2 separate regions of the Homo sapiens genome follow, and region 1 is linked to region 2. The links are contacts of gene promoters, found by promoter capture Hi-C in blood cells and fetal thymus (Javierre and others, 2016). All regions are on one chromosome and are shown on one strand. The core of a region is centred on a gene start or on the middle of the fragment in contact, and the rest is flanking DNA. Distances in the headings are between cores, read along the strand shown.

Region 1 (5,760 bases), core at 1,475-3,974, 530 kb before region 2:
TTTTCCCCCTCCCTCAAGCTCCTGGCAACCACCATTCTACTTTCTAAAGTTTGACTACTTTATATAGCTCATGTAAATGGAATTATGCGATTATTTGTCTTTTTGTGACTGGCTTATTTCACTTAGCATAACCTTTTCAAAGTTTCTCTAAGTTACAGCATGTGTCAGAATTTCCTTGATAATGTTCCACTCTGTGTATAGACCACATTTTCTTTATGCATTCATCCATCAATAGATATTTATGTTGCTTCCACCTCTTGGTTATTGTGAACTGTGCTGCAGTGAACAAGAACACATCTCTTTGAAATTCTGTTTGCTGTTCTTTTGGATGTATATCCAGAAGTGGGATTGCTAGATTATGTGGTAATTCTATTTTTAATTTTTTGAGGTACTTTATACTTATTCCATAGTACTTGTATCATTCCACATTCCTACTAACAATGCATAAGAATTCTAATTTCTCCGCATCCTCACCAACACTTGTTTTCTCTCTTTTTTTTTTTTTTTGATAGTGGCCATCCTAGTGGAAGTGAGGTGATATCTTATTGTAATTTTGATTTGCATTTCCCAGATGATTAGTGATGTTGAGCATCTTTTCATATGCTTTGTGGCCATTTGTATATCTTCCTTGGAGAAACGTCTCTTCAAATTCTTTGCCTCTTTGTAAATCAGATTGTTTGCTTATTGTCATTGTTGACTTGATGCTCTTTATATAGTCTATATATTAACCCCCTTTCAGACATATGGTTTATAGATATTTTCTCTCATTCTATAGGTTCCCTCTTCACTCTGTTGATTGTTTCCTTTGTTGCACAATAGCTTTTAAGTATGATATACTCACATTAGTCTATTTTTGCTTTTGTTGTCTGTACTTTTGGTGCCATATCTAAGAAACCATTGCCAAATAGAATGTCATAAAGATTTCCCTCTATGTTTTCTTCTAGGAACTTTATAATTTCAGGTCTTACATTTGGATGTTTAATCCATTTTAATTTTTTTATATGGTTAACGGTAAGGGCCCAATTTCATTCTTTTGTATTTGAATATTTTGCATTTTCCAAACACCATTTGTTGAAGAAACTATCTTCCACATTGTGTTAACACCTTTATCAAAGATCATTAGATTATATACATGAAAGTTTATTTTTGAGCTCCTTATTCTGTTTCATTGATTTACACATTGTTCTCTATGTCAGTACCATACTGTTTTCATTATAGTAGCTTTGTAATATGTTTTGAAACCAGAAAGTGTGAGGCTTCCAGCTATGTTTTATTGTTTTCTTCCCCTCAAGATTGCTTTGGTTATTTGGAGTACTTTGAGATTCCATCATGACCTTTAGGATTTGTTTTTCCTATTTCTCCAAAAAAAAAAAAGAAACTGCTATTGGGATTTTGGTAGTGATTGCTTTGAATGTATAGATTGTTTTGGGTAGCATGGACATTTTAACATTATTAATACTTTCATGAAAATATTTATTGTGTCTTCTCTAATTCCAGCAATGTTTTGTAGTTTTCAGTGTGCAAGTCTTTTTTATCTCCTTGATTAAGCTTATTGCTTTTTTTTTTTTTTTTTTTGAGATGGAGTCTCGCTCTGTTGTCCAGGCTGGAGTGCAGTGGCGCAATCTTGGCTCACTGCAATCTCCGCCTGCCGGGTTCATGCCATTCTCCTGCCTCAGCCTCCTGAGTAGCTGGGACTACAGGTGCCCGCCACCATGCCCGGATAATTTTTTTGTATTTTTAGTAGAGACAGGGTTTCACTGTGTTAGCCAGGATGGTCTCGATCTGCTGACCTTGTGATCCACCCGCCTCGGCCTCCCAAAGTGCTGGGATTACAGGTGTGAGCCACTGCACCCAGCCTGATTAAGCTTATTTCTAAGTATTTTATTATTTTTAATGCAACTGCAAATTAAATTATTTTCTTAATTTCCTTTTTAGATTGTTTATTGTTAGTGTATAAAAACAAAACTGATTTTTTGGAATTGATTTTGTATCCTGCAACTTTGCTGAATGTATGTATTAGTTCTAACAGCATTTTTGTCAAATCTTTAGGATTTTCTACATATAAAATCATGTATATGCAAAAGGAATAATTTCACTTCTTCCGTTTTCAATTTAGATGCCTTATATTTCTTTTTCTTGCCTAATTGTTATGGCTAGGACTCCCAACACTATTTTCAATAGAAATGGGAAGAGAAGGTATTCTTTCCTTCTTCCTCGTCTTAAAGAGAAAGCTTTCAGTTTTTCACAATTGAGTATGATGTCAGCTGTGGGATTTTTATGTGTGGACTTTGTTAAGTTTAGGTAATTTCCTTTGATTCCTAGTTGTTGAGTGTTTTTTTAAATCATAAAAGGGTGTTGAGTTTTGTATGGTTTTTGTCTTTCACTGTGGCATATTACATTGATTGATGTTTTTATATTGAAGCATTCTTACCTTCCAGGAATAAATCCCGTGTGATTGTAGTGTATAATCCTTTTATTGTGATGTTGAATTCTGTTTGCTAGTGCTTGGTTGAGAATTTTTATACCAATGTTTCATCAGGGATACTGGTCTGTAATTTTCTTATACTATCTTTGTCTTATTTTTGGTGTCAGGGTCCTGCTGGCATCATAAAATGAGTCTGGAAGTCTTCCTCCTCATCAATATTTGGAAAGATTTTGAAAAGAATTTGTATTTGTTCTTTAAGTATTTGGTAGAATTCTCCATTGAAGCCATCTGGTTGTGGGCTTTTCTTTGTTGGAAGGTTTTTGGTTACTGATTCGATTTCCTGACTGCTTATAGGTTATGTCCAGAATTTTTGTTTCTTTATAACTCAGTCTTAGTAGGATATATGTTTGTAGAAATCTATCCATTTCTTCTAGGTTATCCAATTGGTTGGTGTGTAATTATTCACAATAGCCTCCTATGATCTTTTTTGTTTTTGTAGCATCACTTGTAATGTCTCTTTCTAATTTTTAAAATATGAGTCTTCTCTCATTTTTTACTTACTGTAACTAAGGGTAGTCAATTTTGTTGATCTTTTAAAAAAACTGAAATTCTGTTAATATTTTAACCAAAGTTCTTTTTTCCTTTTTCTATTTTCTATTTCATTTATTTCTGCCTTAATCTTTCTATTAAATGTTGGTTTAATTTGTTCTTTCAGTTTCCTGAGGTACAAAGTCATATTGCTGATGAGCTCTTTCGTTGTTTTTCATATGGGTGTTTATTATTACAAGCTTTCCTCTTAGAATTGCTTTGCCTGAATCCCATGAGTTTTGGCATATTATGGTTTTATTTTCATTTGTCTCAATATATTTTCTGACTACCCTTGTGATTTCTTCTTTGAACCATTGGTTGTTCAAGATTGTATTATTCAGTTTCCACATATTTGTGACTTTTTCACTTTTCGTTTTACTATTGATTTCTAGCTTCATTCCATTATTTATAGTCAGAAAAGATATTTGATATGATTTTCATATTTTTAATCTTGTTAAGACTTCTTTTGTGGCTTTAAATGTGATCTATCATAGAGAATGTTCTATATAACATAGAGACAGAGAAAGAGACAGAGATAGGTATCTGTTAGATCCCATTGGTCTATATTGTTGTTCAAGTCCTCTATTACTTATGGATCTCTCTGGTTAATCTATTCATTATTGAAAGTGGAGCATTGAAATATCCTACTTTAATTGTGTTTCTGTCTATTTCTACTTTCAATTATGTCAATGTTTGCTTTATGTATTTGAATACACTGCTGGTAGATGCGCATGTATTTATAGTTTTTATACCTTCCTAGTGAGTAGATCGTTTATCATTATATAAGGTCCTTCTTTGTTTTATGACAGTTTTTGACTTGAAGTCTATCTTATTTGATGTAATTATGGCCATATTCACTCTTTTAGTTACTATTTGCATGGAATATCTTTTTCCCTCCTTTTACTTCCAGCCTATTTATGTCCTTATATCCAGAGTGAATCTTTTGTAGACAGTGTATAGTTGGATCTTGTTTTTTAATCCATTCAGCCATGAATGGATTAAATATTTTGATTATATATTTTGATTGGGGAGTTTAATCCATTTACATTTAATTATTTACTAATAGAGAAGGACTTGTTACTATTTTGTTAATTGGTTTCCGTATATCTTGTAGTTTTGTTGCTCTTTTATTCTGTTGGCACTCTCCTTTGTATTTTGTTGACGTTTGTAGTTACATAGTAATATGGTTTGGCTGTGTCCCCCACTCAAATCTCATCTTCAGTTTTAGCTCCCATAGTTCTCACGTGTCGTGAGAGGGACCCAATGGGAGGTCATTGAATCATGGTGGTGGATCTGTCCCTTGCTGTTCTCATGATAGTGAATAAGTCCCATGAGATCTGATGGTTTTATAAAGGGGAGTTCCCCTGCACATGCTGTCTTTGCCTGCCGCCATGTAAGACATGATTTTGCTCCTCATTCACCTTCCACTGTGATTGTGAGGCCTCCCCACCCATGTGGAACTGTAAGTTAATTAAACCTCCTTCCTTTATAAATTGCCCATTCTTTGGTATGCCTTTATTAATTAGCAGCATGAGAACAGACTAATACACAGACTTTGATTCCTTTTCATTTCTCCTGTGCATCTTTTGTAGGTATTTTCTTTGTGCTTACCATGAGGATTACATAAAAATCTTATAACAATCTCTTTTAAATTGATAACAATTTAACTTCAGTAACATACAAAAGCTGTTTTCCTTTGCATTTCACCCTATACACATCATATTTTGATGTCACAAAGTACATATTTTCATACTTTGTATTTATTCACAGTTTTATACTTATATTTTTATGCTTTTATTTTTTAAATTCTCTACCAGAATTAAAAATTATTCACACACTATTGTGAACATATTATATTCCAGGATTATGTATTTGTCTATATAGTTACTCCATCAGAGAGTAACTTTATATATTCATATGCTTTCATGTTGCTAACTAGTGTCCTTTCCTTTCAACTTGACAGACTTCCTTTACCAATTCTTGTAATGCAGGTCTAGAGATGATCAACTTCATCAGCTTTTATTTATCTAGCTAGGTCTTTATTTCTCCTTTATTTTAAAAATTTATTTACTTTTAATTGATAAATAATAATTGTTTATATTTATGGGGTACAATGTGATTTTTAATCTATGTATGCATTGTCAAAATATTCAATCAAGCTAATTAATGTATATATATTACCTCACTAACTTTTTTTTGTGGTGAGATTATTAAAATTATATTCTTTAAGCAATTATGGGATATACAACACATTGTTATTAACTATGGTCACCATGCAGGGCACTGAAACTTATTCCTCCAGTTTAACTGAAACTTGGCACCCTTTAACCAATGTCTCCTCTTTTCCTCTCTCTCCTCTACTCCTCAGCTTCTGGTTGCCACCTTTCTATTATGTTTCTATGAGATCAACTGTTTTAGATTCCACATATAAGTGAGAACATACAGTATTTGTCTCTTTGTGCTGTCTTATTTTACTTAGCATAATGTCCTCCAGTTCCACCCATGATGTCACAAATCACAGAATTTTCTTCTTTTTAAAGGCTGTGTATTGTTACATATATATGTAATATAAATATATGTGTTTTATATACATATATATATATGTATATAAAAAACAATTTATCCAAGTATCTGTTGATTGCCACTTAGGGTAATTCTATATCTTGACTATACTTTTTTTTTTTTTCTTTTGGTGTCAGGGCCTGGTGCCATCGCCCAGGCTGGAATGCAGTGATATCATCATGGCC
Region 2 (5,893 bases), core at 3,394-5,893:
TATAAGAGTAGTGATTGGGGAGGTGATAAATGTCCATGAAATCTTCCCAATTTATGTTCTTCTGTCACGGCTTCAGCAGGTCCCTCCGTTCGGGGTCCCTGACTTCCCACAACATCTTTCCCTTTCTTTTTATATAAATGTGCTATGGTGATGAAGGCTTGTTCATTCTCTCGATTTTGATGCAGGATTCTTTGACTGGTCTGGCACACTAAAGACAAGTCAATTAAACAGAGAAACCTAATTCCAAATTGCACTAGGCTGTCCCCCTGAAAAGCTGAGTCTTTTTCACTACCTGGCTAGAAGGCATATGAGAAACGGAAGCAGGAAATTCACAGAAGAAAAACTATACATGACTATGGAACATTTCAATGTAATTTTTAAAATTACATAGAAAACATAGGCATAGCTAGTTGTCCATGAGTTGCCTTGTCTAGCTTTTTGTAGTCATTGATTAATCCTCACTTTCAGATTTCACAAATCTCGACCCACTTTATTTTTATAGAATGAGATCATCTCTTGATAGAGGCCTTTGCAGTCTGATCACAACCTACAGTAAGAAATGCATTCTATATTATGACCCAGTACACATATTCCTGTACATCATTGAAAGGTTCAGAAAGCAATATTTTCATCATTAGGTGCAATGTCTCCTGTTTTATATTTTATTCTGTTCTATTGCATTTTTTAAAATGCTGGTCATGAGACCTGCAAAACCCATTCCATGACCCACCAATAGTCTGAGGCCAATGATTTGAGACTTTTGAGAGAAAAACAAACTTGGAGGACTGACACTGCCCAACTTAAAGACTTACTACAGCCAGGCGCAGTGGCTCACGCCTGTAATCCCAGCACTTCGGGAGGCCGAGGTAGGTGGATCATTTGAGGTAAGGAGTTCAAGACCAGCCTGGCAACATGGTGAAACCCCATCTCTACTAAAAATACAAAAATTAGCCAGGCGTGGTGGTACATGCCTGTAATCTCAGCTACTCGGGAGGCTGAGGCACAAAAATTGCTTGAACCTAGGAAGTGGAGGTTGCAGTGCACCGAGATAGCGCCACTGCACTCCAGCCTGGGCAACAGAGCGAGACTGTGTCTCAAATAAGTAAGTAAATTAATAAGTAAATGAATAAAAGACTTACTACAAAGCTACAGTAGTTAAGAAAGTGCTATTGGTAAAAGAATAGACAGATGAATGGAACAGAATAGAGAGCTCAGAAATAGACCCACACAAATATGGTGAAATGGTCTTTGACAAAGGAGTGAAGGCAATACAATGAAGAAAGGATAGGCTCTTTGACAAATGGTTGTGGAATAAATGGACGTCCACATGCAAAAAAAAAAAAAGAATCTAGATCTAGACCTTTACTCAAAATGGTTCATAGACTTAAAGGTAACATGCAAAACTATAAAACTCCTAGAGGATGACACAAGAGAAAATCTAGTTTAGTTTGATGATGACCTTTTAGATAAATCACCAGTTTCCTCCATTAAATACAATCTATGGAGGAAAAGGACTGATGAATTGGACTTCATTAAAATAAAAAACTTCTACGCTGGAAGAAAAGAAAACAGAATTGATATTCTCACCAGCTCCTAAACAAATTGGCTTTTCCAGGAAAACTCAGTTCCCCTGACACTCCTGTCTGTGGGCTTGGCCAGAGTGTGGGCATAGCAGTAGAGCTCCTCTCTCTTCACCCATGGCCTCAGCAAAGCCCCCAGTGCCCACTTTGCTCTGGCACACAGTGGTCTCAGCAGGAAGCCCCGTCTCTTCTGCTCCCAGGAGCCACACTCAGGTGCACTGTGAATCTCTTTCACAGTCACGTCTGCACCTGCAGTCTCCCTCCTGCAACATGCACACTGTTGCGACTGACTGCAGGCCACTCTGGCATCATGAGAGATGGCCGTTGCTGCTCCTGTGGAAGAGCAGACTCACCCTCTTCCAGGAACAGCCTTGGCTGCAACCCATGCTACCTTCCCCTGCCCTGGGGCATTACAAGGTCACACGAGATCAGCCTTTCTCAACCAGGGGCAATTTTGCCACCAGGAAACATGCAATGCCTGGAGACATTCTTGGTTGTCACAACTGGGGACTACTGGCACCTAATGAGTAAAAGCCGGATGCTGCTAAACATTCTATAATGCACAGGACAGCTCCCATCACAGAGAATTATACACCCTTAATGTAATAGTGCTGGGATGGTTAATGTTATGTGTCGACTGAAGTGGGCTAAGAGATGCCCAGAGGGCCAGTAAAGCAGGATTTCTGGTTGTGTTCATGAGGGTGTTTCTGGAAGAGATTGGCATTGGAATCTCCAGAAAGTAAACAAGATCCATCCTCACCAGTGTGGGCTGGTAACATCCAGTTTGTTGAGTGCCAGAATAGAACAAAAAGGTGGATGAAGGGCAAATTCTTTCTCTTCTTGAGCTGGGATATCCATCTTCTCCTGCTCTTGGGCCTTCAAACTCAGGATGAATTACACCACCAGCTTATCTAGTTCTCCGGCCTGTAGATGGAAGACTGTGGGACTTCCCAGCCTCCATAATCACATGAGCCAATTTCTACAATAAATCTCTTCTTATATTCCTATATCCATATCCTATTATTTCCAGTTTTCTGGAGAAACCTGACTGATAAAGTGCCATGGTTGGGAAATCCTGCCCTAGATTTCTTTCTTTGGTCCTCGAAGCCTCACCCCTATTCCCCATAAATCCCACACCTGCAAGAAGAAAGGAAATGTAAAAAGAGTCCCTTCTGGGAACGGATGCTGATTCCTATGTAGATTTCTCTATTGAGAGATAACTGTTGCTCAGTAGTTGGACACTACTAGTTCACTTTTTTGAGGATTTCAAAACTGAGGTCTCTCTTCTCTATGGATGTTTTTTTTCCAGTCCTATTGCTTCAAATATCATCTAAACACTTTCAACCCATAACTTTATTTCCTGTCTGGGCCTCTTTTTCTGAGCTGTACTGGACATCTCAAATCACACGATTTGTGGATATCTGAAATTTAATTCCCAAACTGAATCCTTGGTGTCCTTCACCTCCCCACACCCAATACTGGTCCACCCCAGTCTTCTTCCTCTCAGTCTATGACCGTCATCCCCTGCCCACTGGCTTCATCACTGGGTAGTCGTTCCATCCCCTTGACTCCTCCCCTTGTCCAGCAACCTCCTAACATGCACACACACACACGCACTTATGGGGAATATTAGCACGCTTCTTCATCTCAAGCCCCCCCTCCCTCCCCCAGCCCATCTCCTAGAATGGATTCACTTGAATTCACTCCTGGTTTGCAGGAAAGTGCAGAAATCCAAGGAATGTGGTGGGAATTGGTGGTCCAACTTAAAGGGTCTAACCCTTTCACCCTTATCTCCCTCTGATCCATTTTCTACCCCAGAGCCAGAGTGATCTTAAACCATAAGTAAGCTAAGGTTACTGCTTTCTAGAAACACTTCAATGCCTTCTATTACAGTTGGGGGGATACAAATTACGTAACGTGGCTTGCAAGACTCCCCCTCCCCTACTTTGAATGGTCCTTAGGAGTTGGCCTTCTGTCAGGGCCTGGGAGATGCCGAGCTTGATCCTCAGTAACTTTGCAGAGGCTGTTCCCTCTTTGGAGCCCTTCCCTCACTCTTCCCCTTACCAAGGACAATCACTTCTTCGGTTCTCAGCTCCTGTGAGACCCCAGGCGGGAGCATTTGGGTGTGCGTCATTGGAGGGCTCACTTGCCATTCTTTCTCTTTTCCCTCTTTCCTCCAATGGCTCCTGTGGAGGTTTTGAGACTCCTCAATGTCACTCTGCTTCTCTCTCCAGTTCCAGTCCTAACAATAGGAACCCTAGGTGCCCCGCCCCAGCCTGCTCCAGTCCCCTAGGATAGAGCAAGGAGAGCTCTTCCCTGCATCTAGCCTGTGACAAATGGCTCTAGTGACAGCCCTCTCTGCCTTGTTTCCAGTCCTTTAATGAGCTGCCCGCAGCCAGCCTCACTCTCACTCTGCTCTTCACACCCACTGAGCCCCACGCTTGGAGCTGCTGGGGGTCTGCCAGAAAGACCAGCTCCTAAGATCCCTGCAGGCTGTGCCTGCTCAACTTCTCAATGTGGCTTTCTCAGCCCTGCTTTGTGCTCTCATAAAATTCTATCGACTTTGGGGTTTTTTTATAAATTTGTCCAAATTCCACTCAGAGTATTGTTTCATGCATCTCAACTATGATTTTGATGGGTTTGGGGAAGGAAGGTGAGTTCCTGGGTTCTGCTGATATCTGAACCTGGAAATCTTACCCATATTGCTGAGTGCTGCACCGGGAAGTGCAGGCTTACTTTGGGGCTGCCTTCAGGGGCAGGAGGCTGTGTGCAATGCAGGCATCACCTGGTGCAGGGCTGGAACATATCAGATGACTTAATGGGCTCCAAACTTGAAATCAGGGCTGCTTAGTAAAAGATGGGATGTATGTAGAATTACATAAGAAAGATCCAAGCTTCCAGGATTTGGAATGAAACAGTCTCTTCAGAATGTGCTCTCAGGATTCCCAGAGGCGAGCTATTTCTCAAGATTTCCTTGACCTTTGTCACCATCAGGAATTAATGTTTAACTGGCACATGTGGCTGGAAATGCAAGAAGAGGGAAACGTGTGGCTTGGAGTTTCAAGAAGAGTGACTGTCTCAGTGCCGAGTGCCTCAGCAGCTTCTCCACATGCTCTTCAGTCCCCAAAGTTGGAGAATCCCATCAAGGAGAGTAGCCCTGTAAGGAATTCGAATTTCCAGCATGTAAGTCTCTGATTTTATACCTACTCAGATTGTAGTAGTGGAAAACAGCAACATGTACCTTGACTCTCTGGCCCCATGTTACTGAACATTTGCTTAAAGGTTAACTCACTTGAGGGAGCTTGTGTGGTGCTTTCTCTTCTGCTGCAGGCTGGCAGGGGTTTTTGTTCAGTGGGGGCTGTGCACTTGGTGGCTCTCCATGCACACACAGTCACTCCAGTGACACATGTTTGATAGGTGCTGGGAATGATTTCATGACTGGCTCAGTAGCAAATGCGGGCCAGATGTGATTCTATTTTTTCCATGCACCACCAGGGATGGTGTTGGGTATTTTATTCCCCCAGCCTCTGTTTCTTCTGTAAATGAGGATTTTCTTAGTATCTACCTTGTGAGGATTAAATCCCATGATTTTATGGAGGTGATTAGTAAATGTGAACTCTGCCCTTCCCTTTATAACATCTGAGGCTCCGTCAGGGCTCTCTCCTTTTGGTGTATGTTATAGTTTACTTAGAGGTCAATTTGGTGTCTACCTATGCAGTGTGATTTGAGGAGAATTAGAAGATCTTTCCCACCAACTTGCCATGCTGAGTACAATTCCCATCTGAAAACATATGCGGATAGGAATTTCTATTGGGAGAATTGTTCGGTTATCGACTTCAAGGAGTCGAAGTTCTCCTGGTTTTAAGTCTGTTGTCGGAAGTATATAAGAATCAAAGCTTAATCGATGGAAATCATTGCTCTCCATCATGCGTGAGTTAAAACCATTACTTCTGAGTGGTCAGTTTACATTGGGCTCTGTCTAGAAGGTTTGCCTTCTTCACCTCCAGTCACATCCCCATTTCACAAGTGAGCAAACAGCCAGAGGAGGGGAGGAGGATGGCATAAGATCTTGCAGCTGGCAGAGACGAAATGTGAATGTAGCCCGTTTGCACTTGGTGCTGTCGGGCAGCCAAGCAATCCAGTGTGTAGGTCCAGGGCGACAAGCGCTGCTCCCATGGCTGGGGTAAGTCCCTCCAGCATTCAGCCTTGCTCCCTGTGCTTATCTGGATGCGGTGTAGGATGAAGATGACCCTATAGAACTCTACCCTGGAAGTCCTGGCAAAGTGGATATGTGACATTTTTGAAACCAGGGA

What was found. The method cuts DNA at HindIII sites, captures the fragments that hold promoters and counts their contacts. A CHiCAGO score of 5 or more calls a contact.
Region 1: a fragment that was not itself captured here is called in contact with the fragment with the promoter of DDC in region 2 in 1 of 17 cell types (erythroblasts); the score reaches 7.0 in erythroblasts.

What each region holds. Positions count from the first base shown.
Region 1 is chr7:51,093,839-51,099,598 of GRCh38, reverse strand. All of the region lies in intron 6 of COBL (cordon-bleu WH2 repeat protein), which reads left to right. Among named protein-coding and RNA genes, the nearest start is that of COBL, 220 kb to the left of the region's middle. The HindIII fragment of the contact is 982 bases long and covers 2,234-3,215 here.
Region 2 is chr7:50,564,155-50,570,047 of GRCh38, reverse strand. It overlaps DDC (dopa decarboxylase), which reads left to right and starts at 4,643. Exons shown (of 15, transcript NM_001082971.2): 1 at 4,643-4,763. The HindIII fragment of the contact is 1,002 bases long and covers 4,477-5,478 here.